2 separate regions of the Homo sapiens genome follow, and region 1 is linked to region 2. Evidence: promoter capture Hi-C in 16 types of primary human blood cells and fetal thymus (Javierre and others, 2016). All regions are on one chromosome and are shown on one strand. Each heading gives the region's core, a stretch centred on a gene start or on the middle of the fragment in contact. The rest is flanking DNA. Distances are from core to core; before and after follow the strand shown.

The links. The method cuts DNA at HindIII sites, captures the fragments that hold promoters and counts their contacts. A CHiCAGO score of 5 or more calls a contact.
Region 1: a contact is called between a fragment that was not itself captured here and the fragment with the promoter of CDKN2B-AS1 in region 2, in 1 of 17 cell types (M2 macrophages). The highest score is 5.1, in M2 macrophages.

Annotation. Positions count from the first base shown.
Region 1 is chr9:22,129,004-22,135,256 of GRCh38, reverse strand. No RefSeq gene overlaps it. Among named protein-coding and RNA genes, the nearest start is that of CDKN2B, 120 kb to the right of the region's middle. The HindIII fragment of the contact is 3,268 bases long and covers 3,266-6,253 here.
Region 2 is chr9:21,989,374-21,996,040 of GRCh38, reverse strand. It overlaps CDKN2B-AS1 (CDKN2B and CDKN2A antisense cis and trans regulatory RNA 1), which reads right to left and starts at 1,250. Exons shown (of 19, transcript NR_003529.4): 1 at 880-1,250. It overlaps LOC124902130 (a long non-coding RNA gene), which reads left to right and starts at 2,013. Exons shown (of 2, transcript XR_007061436.1): 1 at 2,013-2,155; 2 at 3,561-6,667. It also overlaps a transcript of CDKN2A not described here. RefSeq lists silencers at 797-996, 1,317-1,576, a cis regulatory region at 6,563 and enhancers at 6,003-6,585, 6,491-6,635. The HindIII fragment of the contact is 17,311 bases long and covers 1-4,843 here.

The sequences.
Region 1 (6,253 bases), core at 3,650-6,149, 140 kb before region 2:
TCACTCTCACACTGTTCCTCTACTCAAGGATATTTTGCCTTGGGTCTATGTTCAGCAGTTGTCTCTCTCTCTCTCTCTCTCTCTTTGCATGTGTGTGAGTGGGTGTGTGTGTGTAAGTTCTGGAGTCATTCATGCTGTGCTCAAATCCAAGCTCTGCTTTTACTACCATGAAGCAGGTTAACTAACCTCATCAAGCCTCAATGCCCCCATCTGTAAAATGGGAATTATAACTGAATTTACCTAATAGGGATATTGTGAGGAGAAAATGAAGCAATGCAGGTAAAGCACTCAATACAGTGCTAGTAGATAGTGAACACACAATAAGTATCACTAATTATTATTTTTGTTTATATGTATTATTTCACCAACAGAGAGGCACTTCTGTTTAGTACAAAGGCAATATATTTTATATTATTTTGTATCATTCTGCAAGTATGATGACTGCACTGTTTCAACTAAAATCAGGACAAATGACCTGGCAAATCACAGGCATTTACATGGCAAAGAAACAGAAGCACTGAAATAAAAAACAGTGCCAGGTAATCAGGATGGGAAAATCACTGTGCTTTGCTTTTCTAATAGAGTGAGTTTTCAGATAAGAGTATGCCAGAAACCTGGCATACAAGTTAAGGGGCAGGATTCTGAATTTATGGACAAGTTCAGACAAGTATTTTCTCTTTCTGTGTGGGATGCATGAATACAGGCACCTGTGCAGTATACTAGGTTAGTGCTCTTAAGGAAAACCTCATCTTTTTTTTTTTTTTTGAGATGGAGCTTCACTCTTGTCGCCCAGGCTAGAATGCAGTGGCCCAATCTCAGTTCACTTCAACCTCCGGCTCCCAGATTCAAGCAATCCTCTTGCCTCAGCCTCCTGAGTAGCTGGATTTACAGGTGCCGCCACCACGCCCAACTAATTTTTGTAGAGATGGGGTTTCACCTTATTGGCCAAGCTGGTCTCAAACTCCTGACCTCAGGTGATCCACCCACCTTGGTTTCCCAAAGCGCTGGGATCATAGGCGTGAGCCACTGCACCCGACTGGAAAACCTTATATTTACTTCCCAAAATTTGTTCTGAGAATATCAGTAAAGTCAAAAACCTTCCCCATCCTGGGTAGGAGGAGCCAGAAGACAGATCAGGAGGGTAATAGACTTACTGTCATGAGAAAACTAAAGCTGGAGGTGAGCTGCTGACAGGGCAAGAACGCTTATTGACAAAGAAAATGGGCCGGAAAGGTTATGGTGTTCTAATGTCTTCATTAGACAGAACTGATAAGTGCTTTCAAGTCTGTTAACAGGATTATTTTGGAAAATCCCAGCTTAACTCTTAGAATTTCATCTGCTTAACTGAAACTTTGTCAATATTGTACATTTTTGTTTATATTAAGTAAGGACTAAAACCTTTTGAAACCCTGCCAATAAGTAATATGAAAGACAGAGAGGTGGCTGAAGGTTGGTAGAACAAGAAAACAGCTCCAACAGGATCTGTTCACGATAGAATGGCTCCTTTAAAGAGAATAGCCAGAATAGACACACCTCTAGACAAATGTAAGTACAATACATTCCAAAGTCAAATACAAATGCTTTTTATTATCTTACATCTTTTATAATCCATGCCCCTGTTCCAAAGAATTTATGCAGATAATTGAAAAATAACAAATTTCTTTCCTTGAACCTCTGTTTCTCACAGAGCTGTAATACCTAGGGCAGATGCTCCATGTGGCAAAGGACAACTGTGGCTCTCAGATAATCCAGTGGTCTTATCCTTATGGTTATTCCCTTTTACTGCTCTTCCCTACATTGAATGGAACCAATACACATTCACTCATGGGAATAGAATGGCTCCCAATAGTCGTTTATTTTCATGCTCCTAATCTTCACAGTCTTCACACTCTTCCACTGACTTTGCTTTATTTCCAAGGTGAAATATTTATATACCTACTTTATCTTATTTTAATAACTGATTTATTGTTGCGTCTCATATTGTGTTTTTAAAAATGTCACTGCCGACAACGCTTTAGATTTTGTATTGGAAGAAAAAAACAACCATCTTATACTGATGTAGAACTACAGCCTAAAAGGTAAAAATCATGTGGCCCATTATGTACTCACCACCAAATACATACAAACTATACTTTATGTCAACATTAGACAGAACATAAAATTAGAAATTATTGAAGCCAGATTTAAGTATTCAGTTGTTCATTATACTATTTTCTCTACTTAATGTATGCTTGAAATTTTCCATCATAAAAAATTAAGAAAAAAAAGTGCTCTGGCCGGGCGTGGTGGCTCACGCCTGTAATCCCAGCACTTCAGGAGGCCAAGGTGGGCGGATCACGAGGTCAGGAGTTCGAGACCAGCCTGACCAACATGGTGAAACCCCATCTCTACTAAAAATACAAAAATTAGCCGGCCATGGTGGCGTGCACCTATAATCCCAGAGGCTGAGGCAGGAGAATGGCTTGAACCTGGGAGGCGGAGGTTGCAGTGAGCCGAGATCATGCCATTGCACTCCAGCCTGGGTGATAGAGCTAGACTCCATCTCAAAAATAAATAAATAAATAAATAAGTGCTCTAGGTGATATATTTTGATTTTAGATAACACCAGAGAGCATCTTAGGCATATTAGAGCTTCAGGGTTCCTCTCTTCAACCTTGGGAAGCTCCTGGGAGGAAGAAGGTGTTTGTTTTTAGTATGAGTTACTTCAGAGAGAAAGTGCCCAATTTTCTCATACAGGTGGTCCAGACATGAAATGCAATACATTCGATTTTTCTTTTATTTTCTCTCTCTCTTTTTTTTTTTTTTTTTTTTTTTTTGAGATGGGGTCTGTCTATCACCCAGGCTGGAGTGCAGTTGTGTGCTCATAACTCACTGCAGCCTTGAACTTCTGGGCTCAAGTGATCCTCTGGCCTCAACCTCCCAAGCAGCTGGGATTGCAGGTGCAAGCCACTATGCCTAGTACATTTATTTTTTAAACTAGATGGATGCAGGGTAATGAAAAGTACGGAGGCTTTGGTGTTGGACAGACTAAATTCAAATCCTGCTGTCTGCACCACTGGAGGTAAATTACTAATTCATCTATCTTTTTATCCATTGTAAAGTTAATATCAGCTTCACAAAGTTATTATAAGTAATGTGCATAATGATAAATCTTGAAACTAGTAGATGCTCAATTCATGTGGACTTCCTTCCTGTCACAGTTTTAGTTGCTAATCACATAACATTAAGAAACCCCAAAGACTTTCTAGATATAACTCTGGAAGCTTTTTTAGTTCCCCAGCCAGTAACAGCTTGGCATATCTAAAGCTACTTTACATTATTAATAGGACTATTAATAGATAAGAAACATGTCTTTAGACAGATTAGCTACTAGATAGTACAGTATACTAGGAAAGACAATAAACTCTTTGTTATGAATGTGAATTCTCATTTCTACTCTCTCATTAAGAAACTGTTGCCTTGGCCGGGCGCGGTGGCTCACGCCTGTTATCCCAGCACTTTGGGAGGCCAAGGCGGGCGGATCACGAGGTCAGGAGATCCAGACCATCCTGGCTAACACGGTGAAACGCCGTCTCTACTAAAAATACGAAAAATTAGCCAGGCGTAGTGGCAGGCGCCTGCAGTCCCAGCTACTCGGGAGGCTGAGGCAGGAGAATGGCTTAAACCCGGGAGGTGGAGCTTGCAGTGAGTCGAGATGGCGCCACTGCACTCCAGCCTGGGCGGCAGAGCCAGACTCCTTCTCAAAAAAAAAAAAAAAAAAAAAGAAAAGAAAAAAGAAAAAGAAGAAGCTGTTGCCTTTAAAAGGGACATCTAATCATTTTATGTTTATGAAGAAGAAATCTTTCTGAAGTAATTTTAAATTCTTTACTTTCTAAAACATAGAGAATGATAAACATAGAGGTTGACTAAGATATATGAAAGTAACAATTTGATATGTCACTATATCAAATGGAGACAGATCAGTTTGGTTTACGTCAGATATGAAAACTATCCTTATTAGATTTTGACAATATAAAATACTATACAAATAGAAGGTTTTGACTCTGAATCAAATGGCCTTAGCCAGAGCTCACTGAAAATAGTTGTGTTGTATGATTATTATTGTTTTTATTATGATGAAAGCAAGGATTGTGAATTTAATGCAACAAGTAGCTGCAAATTAATTGAAGCCCAGCATACAGTGTGTGATCTCAGGTGTCAGAGACACTAGACACGTGGCTGGCCCTGCCCTTAACCATAGCCTTTGCAAGTTATTTCACATTTCAGAACCCCAGTTGCCTCTTCTATAAAATAAGACATCTCTATCTCTCAAACTTGTTTAAAAATTAAATGATAATATGCTGGTAAAATATTCCTGGCATTTAGTAAGTGCTTAAGAATCAATTTTCTGCATGAATTTCCACTTTTAGAATATCTTACCAGCTTTTTATGAATAATGCTGATTTTTCTTCAGTTAAAATTCAAATTTTTACTTTTCATGTTTATGAGTTACACATCATTGTCTGTGTATGTGCATGTGATCACACATTTATATTTAAAAACAACAACAACAACAGTCAAATCTTAACAAAATAGCAAGAGGATGGTGTTGAATATGGCTAAATAGTCCGTATGGATGCAACATGAGATGCAGGAATAGCCTAAAAGGCTTCAAGGACTGTATAAGTCTTAGGAGGACACTGATTTTTTTTTTTTCCCATCAAAAGCCACAAATGTGGCTCTAAAGCATTTCCCATTACACCCTGAGTTACAAACAACTTGTGCAGGCACATTGGCTGAGGCAATTTGGAAATCACTCTTGAATAACAGAGGAATCACACCTCTGGAATATTTCTAGAGAATTCAAAGCTAAGAAGATAGATAGCCTGCACAATACATATACATACAGTTTAGAGTCTGCACTTGAGATGCTAGACTTTGAACAATTGCAGAAGGAGACAGAATTCTCTTTAAGTGGAAAATCAGCTTTAATTTAAGAAAGGGACCAATAAAACCTGGACAATGCAGGATGTGACCCAGTGCTCTGACACTGACACAGACAAACAGGTGACTCAACACCCGAATGATAGAAAGAAACAAAAACACAAAGTGAACAACCTAGATCGAGCACTTCCCCAGACCACATTTATCATAAAACTAATGGGTTGGAGTAAAGTACAGGCTGCTGTTACTATCTAAAGCATCCTTTGGTTTTGTTACATGCAAATTACATGTGCAGCTACACATTTTTTTCATTGTTTATACTGAGTTTTTCTCAAAGATGACCTGCAGTTTTGTCTAACGTTATACCAATCAATACAGAGAAACAACACCAATAACAGAAGATGCCAAGAGTAGGCCTTAATCCTATTTGAGACACCACGTCTTATGCATATACTCCAAGTATTGACTCTAGCTATTGCAATTTTCAGGACTCTCACTACGAGATGGAATTTAGAACACTTGTGGATGTTGACTTTCTTTATTTAGAGGCTCAATATAATTGGTGCTCCCAGAGCAGAAGAAATACATGGGCTTTATTTGTTTAGTAAGAAAAAATTTTTACTGTCCCCATGCCAAATTGAAAGAACAAATTACCTGCCTTTATACTTTATCTGTCTCATAAGTCTTCCTCAATGTTCAACCCCTTATTTTTCTTCTTCCCTTGTATTCTCACAGTTACTTTTCCCAAAAGTTGTTCTTCTTTTCCTCACCTTATGTCAACAAGGAAATCATTTAACTGATGAGACTACTTGCCCAGTTTACATTTCTTTTCTAAAGACAGACTTTCCCCCACAATGAAATCCCTGCCAGGAAGACAACTCCACAACTACCACCACCACTCCATCACCCCCACCTTCTTATCCTTGGAGTGAGAAAACCCAGACATTTATCTGGAGTTAAAAGTGTCCTTGCCTGAGAAAGTATGAACCTCCGAGACAAGAGAGGAAATGCTGTAGACAATAGCAGAAGCTGCAAAATCCACAAATGCTAAACTTCACACCACACCCATTGGTGGAATCTGTTACCAGCAACACTCATTGCTGTAAGCACCATTATTTATTAGGGATAAAAAAGAAAAATTATCTGTTTTTAAAGTCAGCTCAGCTCCAATTATCATACATATGAAAGTAGAATATCTTTGCTTTTCTGAGCTAGAAACTAGACAGGGAAGCCCTTCGCTTTCTAAACTTTCTCTTCTCATGTACCCTGAGCACAATTTCTCTCCTGAAACCCCAAGATTAACTGGAGTAATTCCAGACCAAACTGTGAA
Region 2 (6,667 bases), core at 1-2,500:
CCACTTCTTCAACTAGGCCACTAGGCCCAAGCGCATGAACAGGAAGCCACTGAGAAGCGGGCCACATTTCCAGGTTCCCGGAGCTGGGCCTAGTCCCGAATCCTCTGGCACACACCCACCCACTCAGGCCGCGGGTCCAGCCCGCGAGGTTTAGGACGGATCCAGGCAGACCGCAGGCTCCGGGTCGGGGCACCGGGTCAGCGCGCCGGCCTGAAGGCGGCGTCCTGGGCTCGACTTCCCGCGCGCGGAGAGCCGGCGAGCCCGCGTCCGAGTTCCTGGACGAGAGCCGAGCCTCGCTTAGACCGCGCTCAGGACCCGGCTCCTCCGCATTCTCCGGCTGCCCCTGTGTCCTCGACTCACCCCTCCTTTCTGCCGCTCCTTCCTTTCCTTGCCCTGCTTTTACTGTTCCCAAACAGGACCGCTTTTCCTGTCTCCCAGCTGGAAAGGAGGAAGGGAGAGAGTCCAGAAAGGATCGGTGATGTGGAAGAAAAGGGGAGGAGGGGACATGGAGGGGGAGACCGGAGAGAGAACGTACGCCGAGGAGTCAGGCGGCGGGATCAAGGGGAGTCGGGGTGTCTGGGCGCGGGGCAGAGCGTGGAGGCGGCAGCGGCCAACGGTCGCCAAGACAACCATTCTACGCGAGGACGCGGCGACAGGAGGGGAGCGGCCAGCAGGGGAGGGGAGCGCGGGGGAAGAGGAAAGAGGAAGAAGCGCTCAGATGCTCCGCGGCTGTCGTGAAGGTTAAAACCGAAAATAAAAATGGGCTAGACACAAAGGACTCGGTGCTTGTCCCAGCCAGGCGCCCTCGGCGACGCGGGCAGCTGGGAGGGGAATGGGCGCCCGGACCCAGCTGGGACCCCCGGGTGCGACTCCACCTACCTAGTCCGGCGCCAGGCCGGGTCGACAGCTCCGGCAGCGCCAGCGCCGCGCCGTGTCCAGATGTCGCGTCAGAGGCGTGCAGCGGTTTAGTTTAATTTCGCTTGTTTTCCAAATCTAGAAGAGGAGCGGAGCGGCTTTTAGTTCAAAACTGACATTCAGCCTCCTGATTGGCGGATAGAGCAATGAGATGACCTCGCTTTCCTTTCTTCCTTTTTCATTTTTAAATAATCTAGTTTGAAGAATGGAAGACTTTCGACGAGGGGAGCCAGGAATAAAATAAGGGGAATAGGGGAGCGGGGACGCGAGCAGCACCAGAATCCGCGGGAGCGCGGCTGTTCCTGGTAGGGCCGTGTCAGGTGACGGATGTAGCTAGGGGGCGAGCTGCCTGGAGTTGCGTTCCAGGCGTCCGGCCCCTGGGCCGTCACCGCGGGGCGCCCGCGCTGAGGGTGGGAAGATGGTGGTGGGGGTGGGGGCGCACACAGGGCGGGAAAGTGGCGGTAGGCGGGAGGGAGAGGAACGCGGGCCCTGAGCCGCCCGCGCGCGCGCCTCCCTACGGGCGCCTCCGGCAGCCCTTCCCGCGTGCGCAGGGCTCAGAGCCGTTCCGAGATCTTGGAGGTCCGGGTGGGAGTGGGGGTGGGGTGGGGGTGGGGGTGAAGGTGGGGGGCGGGCGCGCTCAGGGAAGGCGGGTGCGCGCCTGCGGGGCGGAGATGGGCAGGGGGCGGTGCGTGGGTCCCAGTCTGCAGTTAAGGGGGCAGGAGTGGCGCTGCTCACCTCTGGTGCCAAAGGGCGGCGCAGCGGCTGCCGAGCTCGGCCCTGGAGGCGGCGAGAACATGGTGCGCAGGTTCTTGGTGACCCTCCGGATTCGGCGCGCGTGCGGCCCGCCGCGAGTGAGGGTTTTCGTGGTTCACATCCCGCGGCTCACGGGGGAGTGGGCAGCGCCAGGGGCGCCCGCCGCTGTGGCCCTCGTGCTGATGCTACTGAGGAGCCAGCGTCTAGGGCAGCAGCCGCTTCCTAGAAGACCAGGTAGGAAAGGCCCTCGAAAAGTCCGGGGCGCATTCGGCACTTGTTTTGTTTGGTGTGATTTCGTAAACAGATAATTCGTCTCTAGCCCAGGCTAGGAGGAGGAGGAGATAACCGCCGGTGGAGGCTTCCCCATTCGGGTTACAACGACTTAGACATGTGGTTCTCGCAGTACCATTGAACCTGGACCTCCCTTCACACAGCCCCTCAATCGTGGGAAACTGAGGCGAACAGAGCTTCTAAACCCACCTCAGAAGTCAGTGAGTCCCGAATATCCTGGGTGGGAATGACTAAGACACACACACACACACACACACACACACACACACACACACACACACAGTAGGAAAGGTGTATTTCAAGCACACTTTCTTTCTCCTTGGGGAGAATTATTGCTAACCATCTAAGTTTTCTGGAGGCGGCCTTTTTTCTCCCCAGCCTCCCGGCGGGGTCACCCTCTCCCACCTTCCAGGAGAGTGGAGGACCCGTGAGATACGGGGCACGCAGGCAGCGACTTCCTGAAATGCTAACAAGGATCGTAGGATCAGTTACTGCTGCGAGGAGCAAGCACTTGCTTCTTGGGGGAGTTTTGCAGCCAACAGGGAAATGGGCTTTCTTTGTGAGTTAGAGGTAGAGGTCCGGCGGCCTGAGTGATTGAAACTGCTCGGGACAATGCTCGTATGTTTAGCAAACGACAGAACTGTAGAACTGTTCCTGAGAAATCCCAACTGATAGTATTTTAGTCATCTCAGACGACAGTTAGCACAGTTTAAAAATGAGGCCTACTTCTTGAAAAACAGAATCCAAGGTAGTTTTGTCCTCACATTGACAAATGTTGACACAGCCAGTGTAATTTCCTATAACCAGGAAAACTGAAAGAATATATGTACAGTTAAAATATGTACAATGCTAATTAAAACTTGTGTAATAAGTCTAAAAGTAATTTAATGAGGCTTCACTTTTATGACCGTCCTTGTGGTATGCTTCGCCAGGAATATATAGCTTCAAAAAGCAAAGGCCAGCGGAGGGGTAATTATTTTTTTACTGCAATGTTAATTGTCTCTTTGACATGGAAATATAAACCTGTTAAAACTATCAGTGTTTAATTTAGTGTCTCAATTTCTATTAGCAAAAATTTATAATCTATAGGATAAATGCACATTTTATTTTTTACTTTTCATATTATGCAAGTTAATTTTTTTAATTTAGTCAAAGGAGCTTATAAAGGATTTCAGGGCCTGTTGCTGGATTTGATTTTAATTCATTTTGAAACATTGACAAGACCCTGGTTGTTGTTTTTTTTAACAGTGGTTTATCCGTATCAGCAAAAGTTTAGCCACTGTGACCGGTAACTGTATGAATATAGTTCTTAATATTATTGTCTATATAAAAATATTTATTACTCTAGTTAATATTATTCTATATAAAATCATTTTGTTTAAATTATTAAGTTGCCTCTGAAAATCTGTAGTAACAAAGTAGAACATGTCAATGTATATAAATGCCATAATTATGTATTTTTTAGTTTAGGCCTATAAAACATAACATTGTGGTGATTTTAAGTTAGAGAAAATATTTTATAGTATGTTAATGTATATGCATGAAATGCAAAAATATTTAAATGATAGGTTCATTGAAATAGATCATTTTTTGTTATTTAGGTATAAATCAATTTTCAGGACGTATGTGAAAAGCGCAATCTTCAGGAAGTTTCTCAAGATAGAACACAGCTTGGATAGAATGTCTTGAAATATATGCAATTTTCCAATTTCATATGTAAAATGATATACATAATATAAAATCTAGCGGTGTTAATTATAATGATATGTAATTATATATTTCACATTAATATATTTTATGCCCATGGCTATATTGATTTGGGAATATATATGGATACTAATTATGTTAGGATTCATACAATTCCTTGAGAGGCACAAGTGCTAAAAATTACTTGTATGAATTATTTAATATCATTGCAAATAAGATGTTATTTTAACTTTTTTTAAGTTTCTGCAAATATGTTTATTATGACTTTTTATTTTTATATGATTGGAAATACATATACTAAAATTCCACGTTACCAGTTTCTTAACCACAGAAACCTGAAAAATTGCCATAGTTGATTTGTTACTTCTACCTTGGTGCATTTACAAAATAGTCATATTTTTATTATGAAGTTAAATATTCATTTGTTTATAGCTACTTCAGAAGGCTCAGGTTATTTTTTTCTTTAATAGCACAGAGTCCTCTCAAGGTAAGCACTGTGCAGTTAGTATAAACCATTATTCCCCATGTGTACATGATTCACAGTTTGTATTGTGTTCCAAGTGAACCATAGCCCTTTCAGAAATCAAGACTTATATTCATTTTACTTCTTTGAGTACTCTTGAATTTTAGAAAGTCCATTATGATCCTAAGGTAGCAACAACATAGCCTATTACCGTCTATGATGGTTTACAGATCTATTATTCCACGTTAGTTCATCACTATCAACTACCATGATAGAGTTAAGCTAAACCATTTTCCCAACATATGAAAAACTCCTATTACTAAAGTGATACAAATGGTATCAAAAATACTTTTTTATAGCAAGGTTCAACAGTGGGCCCAGTGCTTTTACACTTTTTCAAAAGTCCTTGGAGAAACAGAGAAAATCTCACTTGCCTTCTGTACTAAAACATTCTAGGCCGAACTAAAACTGAAACTTCATAGTAGAACACTGTAGGCCAGGGGTGTTCAATCTTTTACCTTCCCTGGGCCACATAGGAAGAAGAAGAATTGTCTTGGGACACACATTAAATACACTAACACTAACAATAGCTGATGAGCTTAAAAAAAAAAAAAAACTCATGATACTTTAAGAAAGTGTATGAATTTGTGTTGGGCAGCATTCAAAACCATCCTGGGCTGCATGTGACCCTCGGGCCCACAGGTTGGACAAGCTTGCCCTAGCTCCTCCATCTGCTGCAAAGCCCAGCCTGATACAAAAACCAACGTGATAAAAAGTTTTTGTGGTGCTTTATTTTGGCAGTTTAAGTTATATAAACAATGGGTACAGTTTCATTTTCTAAATATAAAATTTTTACATTGAATATGAATTTTTAAGACAAATTATCTGAATTCTGATTCTCATATACCTAACTACTAATATCTTCTCTATTTGTTGCCCAATGAGATTAATCCACCTCTTAAACACTTCACCATCAAGAAAAACAATTTTGTATTTTAAAATGAACCCATCCACTTTCATTCAGCTATTTTATATTCAGGCATCATCCTAAGGAAAGAAAGGTTCTGACAAAGATTAATACAGATGGATAAGTAGTAGCAAGAAATCAAAAACTGCATAAAATTCTAGCAATAAAGTGTTAAATTATGGTACAGTTACATTCTGGATCATCAGGTATCTGAAGAATATTTCATAGACTGTTAAATGATTGCATTATAAAGTCAGGTTTTTTTAAAGCAAGATTCCAAACAGTAAACAGTTTCTCTCTCTCTCTCTCTCTCTCTCTCTCTCTCTCTCTCTCACCAAATTAGTTATAATGGTTTCCGCAGGATGAGAGGGGTTGGGAAAAAGTTTGGTGATATTTATTTTCTTCGTTTCACTTTTGAGTTTTCCAAAGTGCTATGACCATCATCAGTAAAATATACATTTCCAAAGCCTTTGACACACGGTAACAGTCCTACACAGTGGATGAACTAAGAGCTTCTCTACCCTTAGATGGGTAGGGAGGGAGGAAAGACAAGGAAACTGAGTTGTTTAAGTGTCATACACGAGAACGTGGCTTTAAGGTCTGGGAAAACCTGCGAGGGCTGTGACGTCAGACTGTGAAATGCACGCTATGTCCATTCACCAAGACGTTCCATTTTAAAACCCATAAATCCGTAGCTATACCTGTTTCCAAGGTGCCTCGTGTTAGGCCTCTGGTCACAGCACTTGGCGCCCTTCTTGGGATCTCTTCTCTCCGCCCCCACTACCCCACCCCACAAGCACACTCTAGTCCCCTCCAATCAATTTCAGGCAGGTCTCGCCGCCTCCGGAGCCACGCTGGGGGTGCAAGGGCCCTGGACCCGAAAGAGCGCCCGCCCGGCGACAAGAGATGAGATGCACGCTGCTCCTCCACTCCTCAGCCCCCACCATCCTCCTCCTGGATCCTAACTTCCCCACTCTCTCAATTCCTAGAGACGCTGCGGATCCCAGAGGCTTAACTGGCAGCTGGAACGAGGTCCTCCAACAAGAATTTAGACGCTAGGTCCAATTATCACTCCACCGCGCGCACTTTCCGCAGGAGCGATGTGATCCGTTATCATAACTGCGGACCTGGGGTTCCACGTGGAAGACGATTGGGATTTCACTGGCCGCGGTGGGGGTGGGAGCAGACAGAGTCTGAGTGGGGTTAGTGGACTCGAGACGAAAGGCAGGACATGACAGAAGGCAACTCTGGGTCACCTCTCCAGCTTGGAACTGGCTAGGCCTTGTTTTGGAGGGGATGGGTAGATGAAAAGTGAGTCAGGGTTACCCGGAGGAACCACGGGGAAAGTGCGCTTCTGAGACTCTTGACAGCCATTTCGTTCCCTTCCAAGCCAGATGGAGACCCAAGAGTGTTGAAAGGCCACGACTTCCCTCAGTTTCTCCATCTGGGGGTGCAGGATGGTATAGAGAGTGGCCCGTAGTATTTTTCCAGTGACGATGTCTCTCCATTGTTTTCTTCTTATATTGCAGCTTTCCCCATGTTTGAAAATTTTCTTTTCAAATGAAATCATT